4 separate regions of the Homo sapiens genome follow, and regions 1, 3 and 4 are each linked to region 2. Evidence: promoter capture Hi-C in 16 types of primary human blood cells and fetal thymus (Javierre and others, 2016). All regions are on one chromosome and are shown on one strand. The core of a region is centred on a gene start or on the middle of the fragment in contact, and the rest is flanking DNA. Distances in the headings are between cores, read along the strand shown.

Region 1 (6,051 bases), core at 2,934-5,433, 360 kb after region 2:
GGTGCCCATTGATGGGGAACATCTTCCCCCTCTTCCTTGCCCCACCAGTTTGTCTTCCCGGGTTATTTGCAGATAGGAAAATAAATAAAGCCGGCATTCGTTAACCCTCTTCTGGCGCAAACTGCTGTTTGCTCTGGATGAATCATGGTCCTTTGGCGACGCCAGGCTCCGGGAGAGCAAAGCACCGTGTCAGGGCCATGATCCGGGGTGGCCTTTCACTGGGATCGTGGGGACCTGGAGGCCGCCTTATAGGACACCCATGACGCCCACCTCTGGATTTCAGGTGCACGTGACTGGACTTAACTTCAAACCCCAGGGTGGAGGCAGGTAGTGGGAGTGCCCTGGGAAGGTGTCCTCGGACCTTGGTCACTGCTCCTGAACCCATCTGTGAGGCTGGTTTGTCCTCATCCCAAGCTAAGTGGAAGCTCAGGTCCCAAGCCACCGATGGGTGCTACTTGTCAGCTGCAGGTTGAATCTCCGTGGCCTTTATGAAGCACCTGCTGTCTACCCTTCCTGCCTTGTAGAGCACTCCTCCCAGGGCTCAACAGTGGGGCCGGGGTGGTCGGTGTGTTGGCTCCACAGGCGCCTGCCCTGGGAGGAAGGTGGGGTGTGGAGGGAAACGCTTGGCCCCTGTAGGTCTCCACCAGCCTCTCCCCTGAGGGTGGGGGCTCCGGGAGCCTTCCTCGAGGGAGTCCTATATTGAGTGGGTGGGGGAGCCTGCAAGGTGCCCCTGACAGGTCACATCAGAAAGAGCTCAAGGGACAGTCGGAGCCAGAGGTGACACTGGTGGCCACTCGGGTGGCTCACAAGGCCCAGCTCCTCCTTGCTCCTGGGCAAATTACTCTGAAGGCAGGGACCAGGTCTGCACCATTGCGGCTCTCCAGTTCCAGGCAATGGCCAGGTCCTGTGTCAGGGCTGGGGTCCTAGGGAAGCCATGTCCCCACCCCCGGCCTGCAGCTGGGTTTACATTCATCCCCCGAGAGCACATGGGTGTAGCAGGAGGCCTGTGCAGAGAGCTCCGACCATCGCACAGGGCACCTTTGGTTGTTTCACGGAGCAGGCAAGGGAGCCATCGGATCCTGTTAGGTTTGAGCAAGGATGTGGGGAAGAAGCTGGAGAGCCACTTTGCCATGCAGGGAGAGGAGCACATGGGTCTAGGGATCTACTTTAGTGTTTGGAAGGTTTTTTAAGATGAAAGAGGGATGTGTAGGCTGATAGGTCTGGCAGAGCCAAAAGGCAGCGACATGTCTACTGGGAGAGATGGAGCTGAGCGCGGGGCTCAGGCAGGGTGGCAGGGCAGGGCCGGGGCCCTGGGTGGGTCAGGTGGGTTCACAGCCAAGTGTGTAGAGAGGGCTTGGGCCCAGAGTGAAGCAGTTGCAAGCTCTCCCACAACCCATTCTCTCTGTCTCGGCATCTGTGGCATCCCGTGATGGGTGGGTCTGTACACACCCCACCCCTGGCTGTGCCACAATGGGGGTGTCTGTACACCCCTCACCCCTGGCTGTGCCACGATGGGGGGGTCTGTACACCCCCCATCCCTGGCTGTGCCACGATGGGGGGTTCTGTACATCCCCCAGTGATGGGTGGGTCTATACATCGTGGTTATGCCACGAGCTCCAAGGCTGTATCAGTCCGTTTTCACACTGCTAACAAAGACATACCCGAGACTGGGTAATTTATAAAGAAAAAGAGGTTTAATAGACTCACAGTTCTACGTAGCTGGGAGGCCTCACCATCACGGCGGAAGGCGAAAGGCCCGTCTTCCATGGCAGCAGGCAAGAGAGAATGAGACTCAAGTGAAAGGGGAAACCCCTATAAAACCATCAGATCTGCTGAGACTTGTTCACCACCATGGGAACAGTATAGGGGAAACTGCCCCATGATTCAATCACCTCCCACCGGGTCCCTCCCACAACACGTGGGAATTATGGGAGCTACAATTCAAGATGAGATTTGGGTGGGGACACAGCCAAACCATATCAAAGGCATCGTCTGGCCACTCTAGGCCCTTGTTCCCAACTCTCAAACTCCACTGACATCACCTCTGTGCCTGCAACCCCTCCTGGGATTCAGTGGAGACCTCGTCCCTTGTTGGAGTATCTGCGCTACCCAGAGGGTGATGGTAAAAACTGACCTTTGAGGAACTTCAGAGACAAAGCCTTCCGCAGTCAGCTCTCCCTGCAGCCCCTTCGCAGAAGCCTGTCCTCACACGCCCGCCACCCCTACCTGCCCTGCCTCCTGGCCCATCTCCCTGCAGCCAGACAGTCCTCATCCATTCTTCATCCTCTGCCCCCAACCCCCAGCCTTCCTATCTCCCTTCAGCTCCGTCCAAGGTCCCTGGGACTCAGCCCCATCTCTCCCCAGCCTTGACCCCAATAAGCTCGATGTCTTTGCCCAGGAGCTCCTGACACACCAGACTGCATCCAGCTTCCTGTTCTGCGCTTGGCCCACCGCCTCGGTCCACAGGAACCTTCATCTCTGCTCTGACTGTAAGGATGGGCTCTCTGAGGGCTTCCCCACCCCACAGCAGGCAGGTGGTTCTGGGAGTCTGGGATTGTCATGCCTGGGCACCTTCCTGCTCTGGCTGAGCCCCTCCAGGACGGAAATCTCCCAGATTTCTCTCTGCCTCCGTCTCCCCACCCTGGCATACAGTGGGTCCTAGGAAGGGGGCCGAATGGAAGGGAGGTCGTGTCGGCTCCTACAGGGCAGCCCCAAGCTGCTGGGCTGAGGTGCAGAGCCATGGGTCCAGCCTGACCCGCATGCCGGGAGCTGATTCCATGGCTGGAAGGGTCGGGGGTTCCCCAGGAGCCCAGACAGCACCTAGAGTTGTCACAAGGAGTGAAAGGCCCTGAGGGGACAGAGGAAGGAGGCTGGGCAGAGTGGGCACGTGGACTTCGGACCGCGCTTGTGGGATAACAGTGGCTAGGGCTGTGCAGAGGGTGGTGCACTGCCCATGGGAGTCCAGAGAAGCCAGGTCCAGTGGCAGTGGCATGCATCCGGCAATCCCTCCGGCTACCCTGCATGCAGCGTGACCCTCCTTGAAGCACCCCAGGAAGCAGTCACAGCCTCGCTCTGCCCAGCATTGGGGGCCTGGCCTCTGAATCTGGTGGGGAAGGCTGTGTTGCCTGCTGGCACCCGCTCTATCACCAGTCCCACCATAAGGCTAGTCCCCAAAGTCAGCACTGCAGCCAGGGCCAGCGAGGGCCAGCAAGGGCAGGCCTGTGCAGGGGCTGCAGCGTGGGGTGTGCGTCCCGCACTCTGGGCCAGCCTCGCAGCTCACAGGGCTCTGTCATCCCAGGAATGTCTTTGATCAAGAGTTTATGCAAGACGAGGAAAGCAAGCCCAGGACCTCTAATCCGTTCCCACAGTCCCCTGCCCGCCAGGGCCCCACAAGCCCAGCGCCACACCGCCAGGCCTGAGCAGACAATAGCAGGCGGACGGGTGGGCGGGCAGCTCTGGGGCCGCTGGCCTTGGGGCCCACATCCGGGAGCATTGTCACCGCCACTCACGAGGGCACACAAGGAGGGCTGGGGAAGAGAGAATGCAGAGCCCTCTGCTGAAGGGGCTTCGGTGGGCCTTGAGCCTTTCAAAGACGGCGGTGTCCATTAATCCTTTTAATTTGCACCTAGCGGCAGCTGAGACAAGCCTCTCAACCGGCAGCCACTTTAAGAGCTGAGTGGTCTAACCCGAGGATCAGCTCCTATTCCAGACCCTGGGCCCTCTGAGCCTGTCGAGGCAGTCCTCCTTGCCTTTGTTTAATCACGGGAGGAATCGCAGCTGGAGGTTACTGAGCACGCACTGTGTGCCTTGTGCTCAACACCGAACACAGTTTCTCTCTGAGTTTTGCAACGACCCCATGGGTTGGTGACAGGGAGGGGACACTCTGGTGGCAGCCACAGACACAGCCCTGCCCTCCCAGAGCCTACACTCTCCCGCACACAATCATCCCATCTGCTAGGTCAGGGATTGGCAGGTTTTCTGGAAAGGGCCACAGAGAGAGGCTTCAGGCTTTGTGGGCCACAGGTTCTCTTGCCCTGTGCAAAAGCAGCTGCAGCCGCTCTGTGAATGAGTGAGCATGGCTGTGTGCCAATAAAGCTTTATTTACAAAAATAGGCAGCAGACTGGATTCAGGCTGAGGGTGGTAGTTTGCCGACCCCTGTTGTAGATGAGTAAACCGAGGCCCAGAGAGGTAAAGTAACTGAGCCAGGACTGCACAGCTAGTGTGTGACCAAGCCAGCCTGGTGGGTCAGCCTCATGGAGAAGAAAAGGCTCAAGCTTCAAAAAGGGAAATGCACGGAGGCTTCATTGGGCCATTTGCAGCCAGGCCCCACGCACACAGCTCAGGGCCCTGCTTCGCCAGCTCCACCTGTTTCGAGGCTCCCAGTAGGTTGCCCCTGCGGGCGGCACTGTGTCTTGGCTGCTGGCCTGGAGAAGGGCAGCCAAACAGGCCGGCAGTGGACATCTGAGGGTGACCAGCTGTTTAAAAAGAAAACTCACCGGCATGTATAGGCACACATTAAGCACACACGTTTTGGAGTAAAAGGCCCTGGGGTTGGATCTCGGATCTGCAGCTTTCCAGCTGTGCGGCCTCATTTCTCTGGGCCTCAATGTTCACACCTATAACATGGGGAAATCCTGCAAGAACACAGCCCATGATGGGGAGTCGTCTCCATCTCCTACTCACGACAACGACCAGCACAGAACGGGGGCTCCATAAATCTCTGTCAATAACTGAATTCTTTCTGGGGTGCTGAGGATTCTATGGCTCAATGTGTGTGAAGCACTGCTGAGCACCGAGCTTGGGGTGCAGTGATCACTCAGGGAACGCCATCATCCCCTCGGCGCATCCGCATAATCACCATCAGCATTCCATGCACTGCCCAGGTCTGGAAGCACAGGCCTCCATGCCACGGCGGCCGCCTGGGTGGTGGCACCAAAGCCGATCTTACTTCCCTCCTTTGGCACATTAAGTAGACAGTTCTGGGTCTTCTTGACACCACGGATGCCCCCTCCTGGTGTTGACAGCACCCAGACTTTGCTCCAGGGAACCACCATTCCCAGATCTGTGGTTTGAGTGGGACCGAACCCATCCCCAGCTCCAGGCCAGGTCTTCATAGGCTGAAACCCAACTGCACATCCACACCCACCAGAAGAGCAGCAAGTTAATGGATGGGTGAGAAATCAAATAGAGCCATTGAGTCTTGAGGAGACATTTTCTGGAGCTTCTGAAAAAGATAATGCTTCCCCCTTCCTTAGGATTCCCAGCAGGGAAACACAAGCCCAGGGGTGGCACTGCCCCCCTGCAGCCCTAAGGGAAGACTGAGCTGCTCCCAGGACCTCACAGGGGAGGCTGAGCGTAAGGCCAGCCCTGAGGGAAAGCAGGGAATGGGTCTCCAGACAAACTGCTGGATCAAGCCTCTCCTGAAGTCATCCCCCTTTTGTTCCAGAAGCCAATCATTGTCCTTCATTAAGTCAGTTTGATATGGGCACTGTGTCATTTGGTTTTCAAAGACACTTAACTATTACAGCTTGTGTGTGTTTTCTTTTTTTTTTTTTGAGACGGAGTCTCACTCTCGCCCAGGCTGGAGTGCAGTGGCCTGCTCTCGGCTCACTGCAAGCTCTGCCTCCCGGATTCACGCCATTCTCCTGCCTCAGCCTCTCGAGTAGCTGGGACTACAGGCGCCCGCTACCACGCCCAGCTAATTATTTGTATTTTAGTAGAGACCGGGTTTCACCGTGTTAGCCAGGATGGTCTCGATCTCCTGACCTCGTGATCCACCCGCCTCGGCGTCCCAAAGTGCTAGGATTACAGGCGTGAGCCACCGCACCCGGCCGCTTGTGTGTGTTTTCTACCTCTTCTAGATCTAACATGTTATGATTGATATAAACAACAGGAGCGACTGACAAAGTTACCATGTGATCTTGGAATTTCAACATGCCTGTCTTGCTTAGCTGGGAGTTCCACAGGGTCAGGGAATGACTCCTCTTGGGGCCACCAGTGCCCAGAAGTATGCCTAGAACTGCTCTGTCTGAAGGGACAGGTCCCTCTTC
Region 2 (6,569 bases), core at 4,070-6,569:
CTTTGCATTGAGATGTTTACTGTGTTGTAAACCACCTGTATGCAAAGAATCTCTCTCCTTTGCTCCATTCCTGGGGCCCATCACAGAACGACTGAGTTTCACCTTTGTGCCCATCCCCTGCCAGCCATTGTCTCTGAGTCTCTCTCCCAGAATGCATGGAAACAGGGATTTGGTTCCTTTTTGTTTCTGACAGTGCTGGCACAGGGCCAGGTGTCCAGTTCACCCTCAGTCCCGACTCACAGAAGCAAGACCCTCTTGGTTTCTAAAATGCACCTTTTACAATTGTTGAAGGAATGCCTTCTTCAACCCCTCTGCAAGGCTCTGGAGGACCTTGGTAGGTGGCTCTACCAGTGTGAATGGACAGGGTCCCTCTCTGCCCCAGGAGCAGCAGGGGCCTCCAGCCAGCCTTCTGTGTTGCTCCTTGCGGGAGAAATTCCTACTTGGGGTGCCAGCCAGCAAGGCAGAGAGGCAGGTACCTATTTCAGTGCTATAGGGCTTGGCCTGGACACCCTCTGTCATGTGTGTGATAATCATAACACAATGTCGAGATCAGCATCTGATCACCACCCAGGGCTTCTTAAACACGTACTCTGTGCCAGGCACTGAGCTACGCACTTTTTAATGAATCACTTAGTTCACTCTCTCACTCACAACTTGCTGGCATCCATCTTGCTTTACTGTTGGGGAACGGGAGGCCCAGAGAGGTGGTGCAAGGCAGTGATTTGAACCAAGGCCTCCCTCTTGCTCTCCACAGCTCATGCTCTCACTGTGGCACCTGCTAATTCTGCAGCACCCAAGCAGGTCTGGGTGGAGAGGCAACCGGCTCCCCTGCCCCCATCCCAGGAGGAACCCAAGCCTCAGGAACCTCCTGAGGAAAGGCCCCACTGGCCATGACCTTCAAAGATCCCCCGGAGACCACCTGCAGGCATACCCGTATTAGTTATCTATCGGCATAACAAATCGCCACCAACTCAATAGCTTACCACAACCCCAGTTGCAAGTTCAAAGTGCTGCAGGTCAGACATCCAGGCACTGCTTTGTGGGTCTTCTGCTCGTGGTCTCACGTGGTGAAAATCAGGGTGTCAGGCAGACTGGGCTCCTTCTGGGGGATCTGGGGAGGAGTCTGCATCCACGCTTATCCGGGTTGTTGGCCGAATGCAGTTGCTTGCAGGTGCAGCTGTAGGATTGACGTCCCTGTTTCCTGCTGACTGTTGGCTGGGGCCACTCTCAGCTCCCTTGGCTGCCCACATTCCTTGCCATGTGGTCCCCTTCATTTTCCAAATCAGCAGTGGTTCTCATCGTCCAATTCCCGACTTCCACTTTGAGGACCAGATGGAGAAAACACCCTACTTGTAAAAGGCTCATGTGATGAGGTCAGGCCCATTAGGTTAGTGTCCCTTTCTCAAAATGAACAAGTCAACAGTGCCATCAAACACAATCCTATCATAGAGTGTTCATCATATTCACAGGGGCAGGGACTATGTAGGGCATGTATACCAGAGGTGTGGGTCTGGGGACCATCATAGAATTCTGCCTCCCACAATTTTAAAAATTAATTCAGCATCAGTTCTTACTTTTCCCAAGAAGATCGCACCATATTGGGCTGGGGTGGGGCATGGAGAGGGCCACTGGCTTCACATAGCCTTGGTTCAGAATCCTGGCTCTGATCTCCAACGGCTTATGGCCTTGAAGAGGCAGCATGACTGTTCTGGGCCTCAGTTTACTCATCTGTAAAATGGAGTGAGGGCCACTGGCAGGGCAGCTGGAAGGTTAAATGGGATCATGCAGGTAGAAATTTTGGTAGAACCTGACCCTTGGGGCCTGGGCAATAGATGATGCAGCTGTGCATGGTTTTTTAGAACAACCCAGGCTTCTGTTTTGTTTGAAGTAGGGTGGGACCAATGAAAAGCATGTTTTTAGGCTCAAACACATCTGAGTCCACATCAGGAATCTTTCAGAGTCCAACTGTGGCCAGCGAGGCCCTGAGTACTGGACAGGAGACATGCCTTGTGCTGACCAGTGCCCACATGCTGGTGGCTGCAACCTGGGCTGGCTGCTCACCAGTTGCTCACAGGCAGAAGGGTCAGGGCCAAGCCTGATCCCTCAGAGCAGGAGAGTTGGGCATGGAGTTGTGGCAGGTGGAACATCATATGCCCACGCCATTGGAGCTGTGGTCCCTCCTTGGCAGTGCTCTGAGGGAAACTGGCATCCCTGTGCCCCTCCCTTTAGAGTCTTTGGCTTCCTCATTGTGTCTTACTGCGAAAGAGCAGTCAGACTGATATGGATGATGGGAGGAGCTGCCCTTTGGCTCAGAGGAGGAGTGTCAGAGAAGGGGTCACAAAGACAGCTCTGTAGGCTGAGCCAAAAGCAGTATAGGGTAATGTTAGGAGCAGGTCTTGGTGCAACTGCCTGGGTGCCCCTAGGTTCCACTGCTAACTTGCTATGTGACTGAGCCACTGTACACTTTAGTTTCCTCCTCTGTAAAATGGGGATAACAGTAGTCCTAGCCATAAAGTTGTCATGAGGATTAAATGAAATAGTGTGGGAAAACTACTGACATGTGGTGCATGTTCAGTACAAGTTATCCTCACCATTATCATCATCACCACCATCATCATCATCATCACCAGCATCATCATCATTACCGTCATCACCATTACCATCATCACCATCATCATCATTACCATCATCACCATCATCACCATCACCATCACCATCATTATCACCACCATCATCACCATCACCATCATCATCACCACCATCATCACCATCATCACCAACATTATCATCAGACCACCATCATCACCATCATTACCACCACCATCATCATCATTATCATCTTCACCATCATGATCACCATCATCATAACCACCATCATCACCATCATCACCACCACCATCATCACCATTATCATCCTCACCATGTTCACCATCATCATCATCACTATCACCACCACCACCATCATCACCATTATCATCCTCACCATCATCACCACCATCATCACCACTTTCATCACCATCACCGTCATCACCATCATTATCACCACCATCATCACCATCACCGTCATCACCATCATCACCACCATCATCATCACCATTATCATCCTTACCATCATCACCATCACCATCACCACCATCATCACCATTATCATCACCATCATCAACGCCATCATTATCACCATCATCACTATCATCACCATCACCATCACCATCACCAACTCATCATGATTTAACAGGTGGGCTGGCAATCTGAATGTTGAAGACAGAGGGAGAAAATCAACCTGGGGCAGTCAGATTTCTACAGTCCTCCCCAGCAGGACCCAGGTGGGCTACTGGGAGTCCCAGAAGCAGATATCAGCCCAAAAGATGAGCTTTGATAATTAGAGTGAGGCTATGGTGAGACTGAGTGACACTGCGGGGTGCCAAAATAATCTAGGGTTGTTGGAATGCTGACAGCAGACAAAAGTAAGATAAGGTATCTCCTGACACCACCTCCTTCCATCTGCTCTCAGACGGGGCTCTTTGGAGAGGATCTGCCAGGAAGAACTGAGGTCTTATGCCACCTCCACCTCTACGTAACCTCAAACAGGCGTCATCTTGTCTCCTGGCCTCAGTTTCCTCATCTGTAAAACGGGGACACATCAGGATCTGCCCTCAGCAAGTTGCTGAGTGCCTGCCCTGAGCAGCCGGTAGGTGGCGCTGATGGGCTGGTGGTTGGGTTGGGGGAGGCTCGCATAGGGTCTCTGGAGGTCCCAGTAGGGCACTGGGGAGACCTCCCCTGATTCCCTGGAGGCAGAGCAGAGCTCTTGTCTTTGCAGGAGCTGCAGATTCTGCCTTGGGTATCTTAGAAGCTTTGTACAGGCATCTCCAGCTCAGTGGGAACCAAATGCCATCCTATCTCCCCACCTCACTGGTGTCACCATCTTCCTGGGAGCTGTCTGGATAACCCTCTCCCTGGCCCTCACCTTTAATTTGTCCCTGAGTCCCATCAGGGTCACCCTCCATCCCACTGCCATCTTCCTGGGAGCTGTCTGGATAACCCTCTCCCTGGCCCTCACCTTTAATTTGTCCCTGAGTCCTATCAATCAGGGTCACCCTCCATCCCACCACCATCTCCCACCTGAGTGAGAATGGGAACCTCCTCTCCCACTCCCTCCAATTCCCCTCCACTACAGCTGGGGGAGGCTTCTAAAATGCCAAATATAGCCCAGTTTCTGCAACTTGCAGGGTCCCCAGCCCTCGGGAGAAAGTCCAAACCCCTGACAAAGCCTGTGAAGCCCCCTGAGGCCCTGTGGGTCTGGGGCTAGCTCTGGGCTGCAGCCCTGTCTCTGGTCATAGTCCAGCATCCACCACGGTCCAGGTGCACTGAGCTGCCGGCCCTCTCTCCCCTCCGCTGGCTCCTTCCTCCTGACTGCCCGTCTTTCCCTGGCCTCTCTATGCTTCCCGCTGGCATTGACGACAGTGTCCTGGAGAGCTGGGCAGGGAGGGCTGCCTTGGGTTCCTACTGTGTGCTCCACCTAGTGCTGGTCTTGGCCCTTAGCAAGTGCTCAGTACACCCGTGTGGAATTGGGCGGTGAGGGTAAAGGGAGGAGGAGGGAAGGGCCAAGAGCTCCCTGTGCTCAATGAAGAGAGGGACTTGAGCAAGTACTCATTTTTAGTACTTCCCAAGATGTGTACAAGAGGCCTGGGGCCAGCAGAACTCCTTGCCCCTGCCCATCCCCCTCCAGTCTATGGGGTCCACCCCCAGCTGCCCAGCTGTGAGGCCTCCATGGCTCAGCTCCTCATCTATTAAGTGAGGACAGCAGTCGTCCCCCTCACAGCGAGGCCACGTGGGTTACATAACTTTTTCTTAGGGTGCCTGGCCTGCAAGAAACCCCTAAGAATGTTCTATATTCCTAGGCCCACTGTTATTCTTAATATTACCCAGGAAAGGGTGGTGAAGCGAGTAAATAAATGAATAGGTGAATGAATAAATGAATGAATGAATGGCACCCTAGCCCCACTGTCTTCTGGGTGGCTTCAGGATCCTTGAGGAGGTTGGCCGTGTAGGTTCCCCTCAGGTAGGACCTAGGTGAGCTGGGGAGTCTTAACTCACCCAGGGCAGGCCTTAAGGTTGGGCACACCCATGTGTGGGCTCTGCCCTGGCCTTAACCGAGAGAGGGAAATGTTGACGGGGAAGAAAGCCCTGCCCACCAGGCAGCCCCACCCACCTGGGCTAGCCCCACTCACAAGCAGCCCCACCCACCTGGGTTAGTCCCACCCACCAGGCAGCTCCGCCTACCTTGGCTATCCCCCTCTGAGTTCTTGCCTTGATTCTCCTGTTACTGTCCCGCGAACCCACATCCCTACAAAGCAGGAAAGTATGCTTGGGAGAGGCCAAGTGAGTGGGGAATCAGCCCAAAGCCAGGCGTCCAGGGTCTCCCTCACCTGAAGCTGACTTTTTCCCCACCTTGGACAGAGGGCGGGAGATGCCATCCCCACTGAACCCAGTGCTTTCACCAGCCATATTAGCTCCCACTCACCCCCCGTCGTGGAAGCCTCGGCCGTCACACCTGCAGGGCCGGGGCGTGCATGGCCTCAGGGATGGCCTGTTCAGCTGCTGGGTGACTCGGGTCCAGGTGCCTCACCACCTGCTGAGCTCTGTGTGATTTCTGGACACTTCTGCTCGTTGCCTTTGGGCTCAGTGAAGAGTCTGGAGTTTATCTGGAGTGAGGTGGCCGGTTCTTGGTGGGATCTGAGCAGGTAAGAAGCAGGGTCTTTCTTATGTTTTAAGGAAAGCCCTGTGGCTGCTGGGTGGGGGACCAGCTGGAGGGGCAGGAGGGCAGCAGGTGACTCATTACAAGGCTGGGGCCATCATCCTGTGAGAGCTGGGCATGACCAGTGCAGGTCAGTGGGGTTGAGGGTACAGACCAGTGGGACCCACAGACGGCTCGGGAGTGACCAAGCCTCTGCTGAGCTGCCCAGGTCCCCTCTGGTGGACACCTCCTACCCGGAGCCCCCCAAGGTGGTGCCAAAGCTAGACCACCATACAGCCAGAGGCCTCCAGGCCCTACCCACGACAGCCCAGCTGGCTTCTGCCCAGCCACCGTCACACACAGAGGGCAGCCGTCCCCATGGTCCCTAGAGGCGGTTGAGGACCACTGTGCCTGGAGTCATCTGTGGCTATAAACCAGGAGGAGAAGGCTGCCCACCCCCTGCCCCAGAGATGGGGAGGCTGGGGCCACCCGGTGGATTTGGGCAGGTCCCAGCTTCCAGGATCATGAGGTGAAAACGTGAAGGGACCCTAGAGGCCATGGGGACCCAGGCACAGAGCGGCGGCCTCTCATCCTCCCCATGGTCAAGGAGGTCAGTGCCTTCCCGGGGTGGATTACGGATGGTAGTATCTTCCTTCTCCTCAGAGTCCATTCAGGAGCAGGAAAGTTCATCTCAGACCCTAAATCCAGCCACGTCATGCCACGCTTAACACCTCTAACAACTTCCCCTGGCACTTAGGACAGCGTCTGGCTCCTTCCCTCGGCTCATGGCCCTCAGAATCTGCGTCACATACACCCCAGCTCTCCCGATAGGTCT
Region 3 (6,513 bases), core at 166-2,665, 270 kb after region 2:
TCCTTAAGGACAAACCAGGCACGCTTGGATGCGTTAGTCTGAGATCCTTTGGCCACCTGTCTCCTGTGGGGTCCAGGAAAGGGCCCCATATGAACCAGCTGCATCTGGTGGATAGAGGCACCCCAAACACTGCTTTCACCACTGTCATCGAGCGCTTTCTTGTTTGGTCTCGTAGGTTCAGTGGAAATCTCTGACTTTTTCCTCCCACATTCTGCTCCTTGCCTATGTCTTAGAAATAACAACCCATTCTCAAACTAGAAAGAAGCTAAGGCCACGTGGGCCTTTTCTTGTTGTTTCACGTGGGTGAAACAACACCCCGAACCCAACAAAGCGCTCTCTTTTCTTTCTCTGATTTTCCTTCCGCTCCCACAGCCTCTCCCACCACCACATCTGTCGGTTATCTGTCACATCACATCCTGTAAGTATGAGGATGCTTTTTGATCTACCGGTTACATGATAAGAATAAAGACTTTCCTAAAGCGACTTTATGTGGTGCCGTTAAAAGAACACAAACCTAGGCTCACACATAATGCCACATCTGGGAAATGACGGCTCTGGGGTTTCTCTGCCTCCCGGGTCCCTCTCAGATCAGCCCTGGATGCTGAGCGTCAGGGGTTGTGGGGGCGAGGGGAAGGGATGGGGAATGTGCCTATTTCTATGAAAAATTGAGTAAAAGAAGACTCAGTTCTCCAGTGCTGCAATGAAGTGTGCAAATGCCAGCCTCGGCCAGCAGACCTCCATCCGTGTACCTAAAGGCTTATTTTAAGTAGCTGTGTCTGGTCAAAAAGGGTTCACCTGGTCAGGAAGTGGTCACAGGCTTTTTAGGAGGGCCAAGCCAACACATAAAGGGAAGATAGAGGCACACATAGCAGCCTCAGAGCCCCGGCTCTTTGTCATTCCTGGGTCCAAGGCGAGGACCCTTCACTGGAGAAAGAGCCCTGGGGCTGAAGGGGCCTTGGAATCTGCAGCTGAGATGGGCCAGACAGATAGCCCTGGGTTCCCACAAAGGAAGTTCCTGCTCAATAAGGCTCTCCCAGCGACTCATATGCTGTTCTCAGAGGTCCTGCCCCACACTCCCCTAAAATGGGCAAAAAGAGGCCATGCACCCATAAAGAGATCCTGCGTTTTCCTGTTTTCTCTTCAAATGCTCTTGCTCTGCGTTTTTTCTCTCTTTTATTCAGATGATAATCACATATGACATAAAATTTACCATTTTAAAGTGAAAAATTACTGTCTAGTCCCAAACCATTTTATCACCCTCTCCAGAAACATCCATTCATTAGCAATCACACACCCTACCCCCAGCCTGGAGGCCACCAATCTACTCTCCGTCTCCATAGATTGGCCTGGTCTGGACATTTCAGAGAAATAGGATTGTACAATATGTGGTCTTTTGTGTCTAACTTTTCTTTCTTTATTTATTTTTTGAGACATGTCATGCTCTGTTGCCCAGGCTGGAGTGCAGTGTCGTGATCTCTGCTCACTGCAGCCTCTGCCTCCCAAGTTCAAGCAATTCTCCTGCCTCGGCCTCCCTAGTAGCTGGGATTACAGGTGTGTGCCACCACACCCAGCTAAGTTTTGTATTTTTTGTAGAGATGGGGTTTCACCATGTTGCCCAGGCTGGTATCGAACTCCTGAGCTCAAGTGATTTGCCTACCTTAGCCTCCCAAAGTGCTAGGATTACAGGCATGAGCCACCATGCCTGGCCTAAAAAATGTATATCTTAATTTTAAAATATTGCCAAAAAGTGCTAACAATCACCTGAACGCTCAGCGGGTTGTCATCTTTTTGCTGGTGGAAGGTCTTGCCTCGATGTTGATGGCTGCTGGCTGATCAGGGTGGTGGTTGCTGAAGGCTGGGGTGGCTGTGGCAATTTGTAAAAATAAGATAACAATGAAGTTGGCTACCTTGATGATTGACTCTTCCTTTCAGGAAAGATTTTTCTGTAGAATGCAATGCTGTTAGACAGCATTTTAGCCACAGTGGAAATTCTTTCAAAATTGGAGTCTGCTCCAATTTTATCCACTCAATTTATCCACTCAATTTATGGAATATTCTAAATCCTGTGTTGTCATTTCAACAGTGGGCATAGACTTTTCACTAGGAGTAAATTCCATCTCGATAAATCACTTTCTCTGCTCACCCACAAGAAGCAACTCCTCACTCATTCAAATTTTCTCATAAGATTGCAGGAACCCAGTCCCTTCTTCAGGCTCCACCTCTAATTCTAATTCTCACTATATCCACCACATCTGCAGTGACTTCCTCCACTGAAGCCTTGAAATCCTCAAAGTCAACAATGAGGGTTGGAATCAAACTTCTAAACTCCTGCTAGTATTGATGTTTTCACCTTCTCTCATGAATCATGAGTGTTCTTAATGGCATCTGGAATGATGAATCCTTTCCAGAAGGTTTTTAATTTACTTTGCCCAGATCCATCAGAGGAATCGCTATCTAAGGCAGCAATAGTCCTGTGAGACACATTAGATGTTTCTTAAATAATAAGATTTGAAAGTTGAAATGACTCCTTTATCTGTGGGCTACAGGATGGATGTTATGCTTTCCGGTATGATTACATTAATGTCAACATTATCTCCTTGCACGTCTCTACCAGAGCACATGATTCAATGACCAGGTGCATTGTCAATGAACAGTAATATTTTGAATGGAATATTTTTTCTGAGCAGTAAGTTCTCAACAGTAGCCTTAAAATATTCAGCAAACCATGTTGTAAACAGATATGCTGTCATCCAGGCTTTGTTATTCCATTTATAGAGCATAGGCAGAGTAGATTTAGCATAATTGTTACGGGTCCTAGAATTTTTAGAATGGCAAGTGAGTGTAGGATTCAATTTAAAGTCATCAGCTGCATTAGCCTCTAACAAGAGTGTAAGCCTGTCCTTTGAAGCTTTGACTTCTCCTTCTCTAGCTGTGAAAGTCCTCGATGCCATCTTCTACTAGAAAGCTGTTTTGTCTACATTGAAAACCTGATCTTTAGTGTAGCCACCTTCATCAATGGTCTCAGCTAGATCATCTGGATAACTTGCTGCAGCTTCTCCGTCAGCACTTGCTGCTTCACCTTGCACTTCTATTTTATGGAAATGGCTTCTTTCCTTAACCTCATGTACAACCTCCGCTAGTTTCCTTCTTTTTTTCTGCAGCTTCCTCACATCTCTCAGCCTTCATAGAATTGAAAGCTGGGTGTGGTGGCTCGCGCCTGTAATCCCAGCACTTTGGGAGGCCAAGGTGGGTGGATTGCTTGAACTCAGGAGTTCAAGACCAGCATGGGCAACATGGTGAAACATCATCTCTACAAAAAACACAAAAATTAGCCAAGTGTGGTGGCACAAGGCTGCCACCACTCCTGGGAGGCTGAGGTGGGAGGATCACTTGAGTCTGGGAGGCAGAGGTTGCAGTGAGTCAAGATCAAGCCACTGTGTTGCCACTGTTACTCCAGCCTGGGTAACAGAGCCAGACTCTATCTCAAAAAATAATGATAATAAATTAAAATAAATTAAATTTAAAAAAAGAAGAATTGAAGAGAGTTAGGGTCTTGCCTTGGGTTAGGCTTTGGCTTAAGGGAATGTTGTGCCTGGTTTGATCTATCCAGAACACTCAAACATTCTCCAGATCAGCAATAAGGCTGGTCCACTTTCTTATCATTCATGTGTCCACTGCAGAAGCACTTTTAATTTCCTTCAAGAACTTCTCCTTTGCATTCACAACTTGGCTAACTGGTGTAAGAGGCCTCGTTTTCTGCCTAGCTCAGCTTTCAACCTGCCTTCCCCTCCAAGTTTTATCATTTCTAAACTTTGATTTAAAGTGAGAGGTACACAACTCTTCCTTTCGCCTGAACACTTACAGGCCATGATAAGTTTCAAATATCACGATAATTTCCAAAATGTGACACGGATATACAAAGTGAGCACATGCTGTTGGGAAAATTGCACCAATAGACTTGCTGTACTCAGAGTGGCAAACCTTCAATTTATACGAAACACAACATCTGTGAAGCACAATAAAGTGAAGTACAATAAAATGAGGTATGCTTGTATCAGTGTCTCATTTCTTTTTCATGGCTGAATAATATTCCATCCTATGGACAGAACACATTTTGTTGATCTGCTCATCCACTGGTGGACGTTTGTGCTGTTCCCACCTTTTGGCTGCTGTAAACAGTGCTGCTGTGGACATTTGTGTACATGTGTTATTTCAACACCAGTTTTAAGCTCTTTCAGGCATATACCTAGGAGTGGAACTGCTGGTCACATGGTCATTCCATGTTTTGCTCTGCTATGTTTTTGTTTTTTCCTCTTTTGGCTCCATTTTCCCAAAACCTCAAGATGTTTCTTCCTCAGTGAGGTATCTTGACATGCACTCATTGGGGTCTAGTTGCATTATTTAGACCTCTTTGGGGATCCACCTATACCCTGAGGATGCTGGAGCTACTATTCCTAAAAAGGAAACCCCAGTTCCCCTCCCGGGTCAAGGGCAGGGCTGTGGCCGGTGGGGGGGCCCTTTGTACCTTTCAGTGCTGTTGCCTCTTGGATTCTGTGCCTTTGCTGTCAGGGGTCAGGTCGGGGCTGGGGAGGGTCTCCCTTCTCGCAGGACCCACTGCCTTCATGGATCATGACCCAGGACAGTCACCAGTGCCACCCATTCAGGGTCTGTTGCTGTGGTCCCTCTGAGTCAAGAGCCTCTGGAGTCACTGGGAACCTCCCAGCCAAATCAAGACTGCCCCTGCATCCTCTGGGGGCCTTGTCCACATGCTGACTTTGTTACCCAGGACATGAAGAGAACTCGGAACATCCAAAGACCTAGAGTCCATGGGCCTAACCATACTTTTTCTCCAAAGAATGGGACCTGTGCTGACAAAGGAGCCCAGTTACAAAGGGAAAGAAATGGGGGGCCAGGCGTGACCCCTGAAAGGCCTCTGTGTCATCATGGCAGCTCCCAGGATTGCAGAGGAGGGAAGCAAATGAAACTTCATCCTCAATGTCTATCTCCTGACACACCAGCCATGGCCCTGGGATTTGAAATGCAAAGGAGGTTCCGGAGTAGTGAGGCTGGGATCTGGGTGTTTGGAGCAGGGACCTGGCTGGGAGTTTGGGCAAAGGCCCGCCCCATATTGCAATGGCCAGAGGGACCAACAAGAGGGGAGCAGCAATTGATAAATAAGTTAGCAAATGCAAAAAGCCCAACAGTCACCTTCATCTGTAGCAAATATTTACGACCCTTTGCTCTGTGCAAGATGCTGTGCTAAGAACTCCACCTACATTGTATGGTTGAATTCCCTCAACAGCCCAGGAGGCACATATATTATTATCCCTATTCTAGAGATGGAGAAACTGAGACTCGAAGAGGTCAAAGTTCTTGCCCAAGGCCACATGGAGCCCAAATGCTTATCCACCAGGCCATGCCGCAGCCCATGGTCCAAAGTGCCCATAAGAACTCTGCCATCATTCACTGTTTGATGATCATTCAACCACTGGACAAACCCAGCTCGGTCTTTTGAAGGGCTGATCGGTATCACAGACTATGGCAAAAATAGAAATAAGTAGAATATAAAAAGAATAGATTTCTCAGCGTTCCTTAAATTGTCATTAAAGATTAGAGGGCTCCTAGGAAATGGGGCACATGAAGATGGTGTCCTGAGGCCACCCTTTCCGGAAGTCTGTGGTGGGGCCCTTGTGGCAGGGAGAGACGAGCACCCACGTTATTTGTCAAGTACCCAGAGCCTGGAGTGCGAGGTCCACCCTCACCTCTCAGGGAGTGCAGCCTGAGAAGTCCCTCATCCTGTCTAAGCCAGTGCTTCCTTCTCTGTAAAAAGGAGGTAGTACTCATCATAAGTTGCACTGTGGCCCCTAAAAGCTATGTCCACATCCTGACCCCTGGTACCTGCAATGTGACCTTATTTGGAAAAAAGACCTTTGCAGTGAAGTGAAGGCTCTTAAGAGATGAGATCATCCAGGCTTAACAGGGTGGGCCCTAAATCCCCCGACAAGTGTCCTAGGAAGAGGAAAAACGAGGGGGAGGCCATGTGAAGAGGAGGCAGAAGTGAGAGTCATGAGTCCACAAGCCACAGAATGCCAGGAATTGTCGCCAGCCACAAGAAGTCAGGAGAGAGGCCTGGAGGAGATTCCTTCCTGGAGCTTCCAGTAGGAACCCTCCCTGCAGACACCTTAATTTCAGGTTTCTGGGCAGCAGAACTGTGAAAGAAGAAATTCCTGCAGCTTTAAGCCTGCAGGCTTGTGGTCATCTGTTAGGACAGCCCCAGGACACTCACAGCCACCCAGGACTCAAATGTGCACCTCATACAGTGCAGACTCACGTCGGAGCAGGTGTAGACTCATGTTGGAGCATGTGGTCCACCTGCCCTGGTAGGCTATTGACTGTCTCTACCCAAAACCTTCCAAATGTGCAGGTCTTCCCTTTGATTTAGAACTTCCCCCTCTAGGAATTTATCCTAAGGAAATGAGCAGACGGATGTGCAAAGATGCATGTACAAGATCA
Region 4 (6,371 bases), core at 3,695-6,194, 390 kb before region 2:
AGCGATTCTCCTGCCTCAGTCACCTTAGTAGCTGGGATTACAGGCACATGCCACCACATCTGGCTAATTTTTGTATTTTTAGTAGAGATGGGGTTTCGCCACATTGGCCAGGCTGGTCTCGAACTCCTGGCCTCAAGTGATCCGCCCACCTCGGCCTCCCAAAATTCTGGGATTACAGGCATGAGCCACCGTGCCCAGCCCAAGATCTTCTTCATTTCCTAACTCTCCCCTGCCTGCTCAGCCTCAGGTAGGTGGAGGGGAGAGGAAGGGAGGAAAGAAAGAGGGGGGCCTAGATTCAAAAGGAGGTGGGGTCTTTCTTTCTGTAGTCTACAAAGAGGGAGGGTAGGTAGATCCCAAACCGAATTATTCAGAACCGTTTTTAAGCTTTTATTGCTGCTGCCACTGCAAAGTAAAATTTCAGTCTTTCTACTCCAGGGTTGCATTAGGAGGAAGAAAACGACTTGCTCCATATGCAAAATGCACCGGCCTCCACACCAAAGACCAGGCCCACCCGTCCTGTTGGCTGGCGCGCAGGAGGGGCTCCACACCAATCTGGGAGAGGAATGAATGCTTTCCCAGTGGGGTAGGGCTTGGAGCTCCTAGAGACATGAACTCCGTGATCTGTGGTTGGTCAATGACCTTGAGAGACAAGGAGGACAAGGAAGGTGCTGCTCTCTACAAAACGTCTTTGACCTGTTTGATGTCTAGTCTCCCCATACGGGTTCAGCAGTGCCCAGTGTGAGAAGAACACGCTGGCAGGAAGGTGCTAACCTCTCACACAGGACACAGGGGTAGTAGGCACAACCTACCCACATGCTCACTTACAACTTCTTCCTATGCTCAGAATGTTTTGCCGCTTCTTTGAGAAGCAAGAAAGACTCCCACATCTCCCCACTGCAGAGGATCCCTGGAGTCCCAGCAGCAGTTCCAGCAGCCAATGTTTTGTGAGTGCTGACTGTATGCCAGGCACTGTTCTAAGAGCTTTAAATGTATACATTTACTTAATCCTCTCCAACACCCATGCAGATAGAAATGAACATTACTTCCATCTTGCAGAAGCCTGGCGTCCCAGGCTGTGAGGGGCAGCCGGAACTGCACCCCGGGGGGGTCCCTACAGTAACTGCTATCCCTGCACTGCTCCTGTGTCTCCCACCAGTGAGTGGAACTTTGTCGAATGTTTTCTGCAGTTTATGATACCTAAAAATGTTTTCTCAAGTATAAAATTTTAACACTGAATGTGCTTTTTCAAATAATGAGTTTCTCTTAGAGACTCTGATACAAACTTCCTCATCAGAAATCTTGAGTTAAGACTTCAAGCTCCTCCATAATAAAAGAGAGCAAACACATACAGAATTTCTCTTTGGTCTCTTGCAGTTACGTCTTCTTTTAAGGGTCTCAGAAAAATACCGTCAAAAAAGTTAAAGCTGAAAGTGGTGGTGCATGCCTGTAATCCCAGCTACTCAGGAGGCTGAGGCGGGAGGACCACTTTAGGCCAGGAGTTCAAAACCAGTCTGGGAAACATAGTGAAACTCTGTCTCTTAAAAACAAAAGAGGAAATTTAAATATTATTGAGAACCAAAAGGTAGGAAGTTTTGACTTTAGAAAGATGGTTCTACAAATGAAAGGAAAAGAGGCACCAAAACCCACATTTTGATATTACCCTGGTAGATATGAAGTGCTCTGTGAATTGAACCTTCGAGAAGCAGACCAAAGGGAGGCTGAGGGAAGAAGAGAAACACAGATCATTACCATTAATACTACAAATGCAAACTGCCCTTTATGATGCTAAATGCACAGCTGCTGCTCCTGGTACATGGTATGAACCACTGCATGACAGCCTGCCCACAGAAACACCTAGGTGAGCAAAACTACAAGAACGTCACTTACAGCTACTGGTTATATGTGTTGAGATCAGTTAGCCACATCATCTACAAGCGCCTGAGACCAGAACCACCCGTCCACTAACTCATGCCTTGACTAAGTGCCTGGTAGGTTCAGACTCTGATCTGTGCCCAAGCGTGGGAGCAGCCTCCAAGATGGCCCTGCTGGGCCCCGCCTCCTGCTATTCTTACCCCTGTTAGCCCCCTGGGAGTGGCCTGTGTGTCCAACAGCTAGTGACAGACATGCTAGCACGTGGCTTCTGGGATGAGGTGATAACCAACTGGGACTTCCATCTTGGATGCCTGTGCTCACCCTTTCTGATCTCTGGCCTTAGGGCTGCCCTGCTGTGAGCAGCCCTACCTAGAGGTCCACATGGCGGGGAACTAGGCCTATCGCCAACACCCATGGGAACGACCTTGCAGGTAGATTCTCCAGCCGCTGGCGCAGTGGAGTCTTGAGATAACTACAGCCCCTGCAGACTTGCTTGCTGCAAGCTAAGACCCTGAGCCAGAACCAGCCACTTAAGCTGCTTCTGTGTTCCTGGCTCTCAGAACTGGTGTGAGTTAATAAATGTTTTAAGCTGCTAAGTTTTGGGGTAATTTCTGATGTAACCGTAGATAACGCATACACCAGGAATACACCAGGAAACAAAGACATTCAATCTACTGAGAAGACAGGGGATCAAAATAAGTGCTTAGGTGTAAAAAGCAGAGAACAGTTTCTCAATAACCACTTTTAAAGAAACTCAGCTATAATTTACACACCATAAAAACCACCTTTTTAAAGTTCACCCATTAGCACCAGCTCCCCATTTGCATCTCCTCGGCTGCTTTCTCCTCTCCTCTCCCATTTGGGCATCCGGGGCTCAACCCTTGGCCTTGACCTCCTCTCCGCCCATGGCCATTCCTCTGGTGACTGCATCCAGTCCGATGGATTTAAACACCCCCAATGTGCTGGTGACTCCCAAGTTTACACCTCCAGCCAGGGCTTCTCTCCTGGTTTTGCATACCCACCTATCTATCTGCCTTAGCCACTCGTGTCTGACGAGCACCTCACACCTCCAGAGGCTCCTCATTTCTTCCCATGCCTGCTTCTCCCACACTCCTCCCTCTCACATGAGGGCAACTTCATCCTCCCAGTTGCTCAGGCCCCAAACCTCCATCAGTTTTGACTCTTCTCTCGCACACTACTCAGTCAACCCATTGGCAAATCCATCCCACTATTAAAAACTTAGCAGGCTTCTGTACCTAATTTGCTTCTAGCTTTGTTTTTGGGTCCCCAGGGAACAAACAGTCTCCTTCCTCTCCCACAGGATTTCCTTTAGGTAGTCCTAGAGACTGTGACTGTGTACTTCCATCACGTCTCCTTTGCTCACTCTTCAAGGCCCCAGCTGCTCACTGTTTTGGTCACCTTGTCTCTACTCGCTTCACTGTGTGTCTTTCTCTCCTAATGCGTGAGTCTGTACTTGAACATAGCATTGGAGGGGTGGTTTCATGTAGGTAGGTAGAATGGAGTAAGTCCCACTGCTTTTGTAAAAACTTTCCTGCCTACTTAAACCTAAGTTTTATTATGGAAAATGTCAAGCATACAAAAGTAAAGAGAACAGAATAGTGAACTCTCTCAATTATCCCTTTCCAGGTTCAACAGTTACCAACTCATGGCCAATTTTGGCATCTACATTGCCTCTGGCCCAACTCTGTGATTATTATTAATTTCTTAATAGACTTTATTTTTTAGCACAGTTTTAGTTTCACACCAAAATTGAGTGGAAGGTACAGAGAGTTCCCATATGTCCCCTGTCCATGTGCCCACAGCTTCCTATCAACATCCCTCACCAGAGTGGTACAATCTTTACAATTGATGAACCTACATTGACACATCATTGTTATCCAAAGTCCATAGTCTACATTAGGGGTTCACCCTTGGTAGTGTACATTCTATGGATTTGGACAAACTTATAATGACATGTATCTACCATTATATCATACAGAATAGTTTCACTGCCCTAAAAATCCTCTGAGCTCCACCTATTTATCCTTTTCTCCCCCAATCCTCTTACCCCCCATGTAACTTTTTACTGTCTCCTTAGATTTGCCTTTTCCAGAATGTCATAGTGGGAAACATACAAGATGTCCCCTTTTCAGGTTGGCTTCTTTTACTTAGTAACATGTATGTAAGTTTCCTCCATGTCTCTTCATGACTCATTTCTTTTTATTGCTGCATAATATTCTACTGTATGGATGTCCTACAGTTTATGTAACCATTCATCTCCTGAAGGACATCTGGGTTGCTTCCAAGTTTTGGGAATTATGGTACTATTCTTTTAATATCGTCCAATATAGAGTTAGATCCAGTTTTCCATTTTTGGGGGTCATGGTGAGACATGAAACCCAGGTTTAAAACATACATAAACACTCATGCACACAAATACACACTCCAACCATTTTCAAGCAGAGATTTATAGAGTTTTTAACGGACATAACCTTTTTGGAGCCTCGTATCAGCCCAGCGCCTTAAATACGGCTGTTTCTTTTGCAGAATGAGTTCAGATTAGGCGAGGATATCCATCACCATTTTTCAGACCAGCTCGCAGCCTGGGGGCAGTGGTTCAAGCACAGGCTTTGGAGCCGAAATGACTGCGCCTGAAGTACTCTTCTTCCACTTCCCCGCTGTGTGACCCTGGGCACGTTACCTAGCTCCTCTGAGCCTCACTCTTCTCCCCCATAACATAGGGCCTATACCAAAGTTCAAGGGCTATTGTCAGTATTCAGGCTACTAACTGAAGGAATCAAAATCTGAACCTGGGTTCCCCCGACTCCAAAACCCGTGCTATATTCACCACAAATGCGATCAACACACAAGGCACCAGGTCGGACCCAGGCACATACGTGGCGAGACCGCAGGGAGCAGCGCTCGCTCTGCGTCCTCCCTTCCTCCCATATCCCAGGTCTCACCTGCTCCGGGCCCCGAAGGTCTCAGGATGCTGTGGCTGCACGCGGACGCCAGCCGCCCTAAGGTGACCGTCAGGGAAGATGCTGCCATGGCCGCAGCCTCGGCCGGAAACGGAAACGACGCGAACCGCGTGCGTAACGCACGGGCCCGGCGGGGAACACCGGTCCGCTGTAACACCGGCCCGGCGCAGAAGCGGGACGTCGGCTTCTAGGGGCCCAGGCCGGCGGCGGCGATGGCCTCGGCAGCTGTGGAGAGCTTCGTGACCAAGCAACTGGACCTGCTGGAGCTTGAGAGAGACGCGGAGGTGGAGGAGCGCAGGTACGGGAGGCCGCCGGCGCCGCTCCCTCGCGGTCGGTCCCGCCGTGTCCCGGGCAGAGTCTCCGAGGGGCTCGGCCTCATAGTCTGGGGCGGGAATTTCGTCTCCGACCCTTCGAGTCAGGGGCAGGGATCGTCCGTCCCCTGCTTGGCCACCTCCCGAGTTGTCAGTCTCATCACTTCCTGGGCAGCGCGTTCCGTTTGGGGACCCTTAAGAAGCACTTTGATTTCCCGACCCGAGACCCCCCACTAAGCTTACACTCCTGGGCCCTGGCCCCGACCCCAGTTCCACCCGCAGCGAGTTAGCAGCCCTTTCCCTTATTCATTCAGTAAACATGGTTTGCGCCCATTCTCAGTCAGGCCCCGGCAGCATGAGTCAGGTGCACTGGCTGCCCCCGATCCGGCCAGCGGCGGGCTGGGCATAAGCAGAGAGTCCCTTCCCCTCCAGTGCGTCCAGGGCCGGCTGCGTGCGTGTCGCGGGGAAAGAGCCTGGAGGAGGAAGGCCCTTCCCTGGGGAGGGTCATGGTGGCTTCAAGGAGGGAGTGGTGCCTGAAGGAAAATTGGAGTTAAGCTGGTGGGTGCGGAGTAGGGTGGGGAGCCGTCCTGAGAGGTGTGGGGAGCCATGTGAGAGCCGGGCTTGTTTCCGAATGGGACTATTTACTTGTCCAAAACAATCAGAGCTAACACTTACGTACTTTCCATGCGTTAATTCTTTTACACCTCATCCCATGCCAACCCTACAGTGTAAGTTTCTTTTTTTTCTTTTTCTTTTTTTTTTTTTTAGACAGAGTCTCTCTCTGTCGCCCAGGCTGGAGTGCAGTGGCACGATCTCGGCTTACTGCAGCTTCCATCTCCCGGGTTCAAGCGATTCTCCTGCCTCAGCCTCCTGAGTGGCTGGGACTACAGGCGCGCCACCACGTCCTGCTAATTTTTTGTATTTTTAGTAGAGACAGGGTTTCACCATGTTGGCCAGGATGGTCTCGATCTCCTGACCTCGTGGTCTGCCCGCCTTGGCCTCCCAAAGTGTTGGGATTACAGGCGTGAGCCACCGTGCCCGGCCGCAGTGTAGGTTTCTGTTACTGTCATTTTCCGTCTAAGGAGATGGAGACAGAGAGGGGTTAAGTAACTTGCCCCGGGGTGACACAGTGTAGCCCGATTTGCTGTCAGGCAGTCTGCTTCCAGAGTTTGCAGTCAGCCATATGTGGGTAGGATTTGTCTGAGAT

The links. The method cuts DNA at HindIII sites, captures the fragments that hold promoters and counts their contacts. A CHiCAGO score of 5 or more calls a contact.
Region 1: a contact is called between a fragment that was not itself captured here and the fragment with the promoter of MYEOV in region 2, in 8 of 17 cell types (M1 macrophages, M0 macrophages, endothelial precursors and 5 more). The highest score is 11.7, in M1 macrophages.
Region 3: a fragment that was not itself captured here is called in contact with the fragment with the promoter of MYEOV in region 2 in 1 of 17 cell types (activated CD4 T cells); the score reaches 5.5 in activated CD4 T cells.
Region 4: the fragment with the promoter of MRPL21 here is called in contact with the fragment with the promoter of MYEOV in region 2 in 3 of 17 cell types (monocytes, activated CD4 T cells and M0 macrophages); the score reaches 7.5 in monocytes.

The regions. Positions count from the first base shown.
Region 1 is chr11:69,654,893-69,660,943 of GRCh38, forward strand. It overlaps LOC124902704, which reads right to left and starts at 3,023. Exons shown (of 1, transcript XM_047427985.1): 1 at 2,306-3,023. The coding sequence starts at 3,023. The coding sequence ends at 2,319. RefSeq lists enhancers at 38-975, 2,855-3,582, 5,962-6,051. The HindIII fragment of the contact is 180 bases long and covers 4,094-4,273 here.
Region 2 is chr11:69,288,836-69,295,404 of GRCh38, forward strand. MYEOV (myeloma overexpressed) reads left to right here and starts at 5,320. Exons shown (of 3, transcript NM_001293291.2): 1 at 5,320-5,741; 2 at 6,398-6,569. The coding sequence starts at 6,520. RefSeq lists enhancers at 1-76, 3,891-4,442. The HindIII fragment of the contact is 5,042 bases long and covers 3,849-6,569 here.
Region 3 is chr11:69,558,421-69,564,933 of GRCh38, forward strand. No RefSeq gene overlaps it. Among named protein-coding and RNA genes, the nearest start is that of CCND1, 79 kb to the right of the region's middle. RefSeq lists an enhancer at 2,133-2,277 and a cis regulatory region at 2,205. The HindIII fragment of the contact is 2,981 bases long and covers 1-2,906 here.
Region 4 is chr11:68,898,888-68,905,258 of GRCh38, forward strand. MRPL21 (mitochondrial ribosomal protein L21) reads right to left here and starts at 4,945. Exons shown (of 7, transcript NM_181514.2): 1 at 4,836-4,945; 2 at 1,661-1,718. The coding sequence starts at 4,923. It overlaps IGHMBP2 (immunoglobulin mu DNA binding protein 2), which reads left to right and starts at 5,004. Exons shown (of 15, transcript NM_002180.3): 1 at 5,004-5,151. The coding sequence starts at 5,066. RefSeq lists enhancers at 4,818-5,545, 4,977-5,096, 5,427-5,486. The HindIII fragment of the contact is 5,018 bases long and covers 383-5,400 here.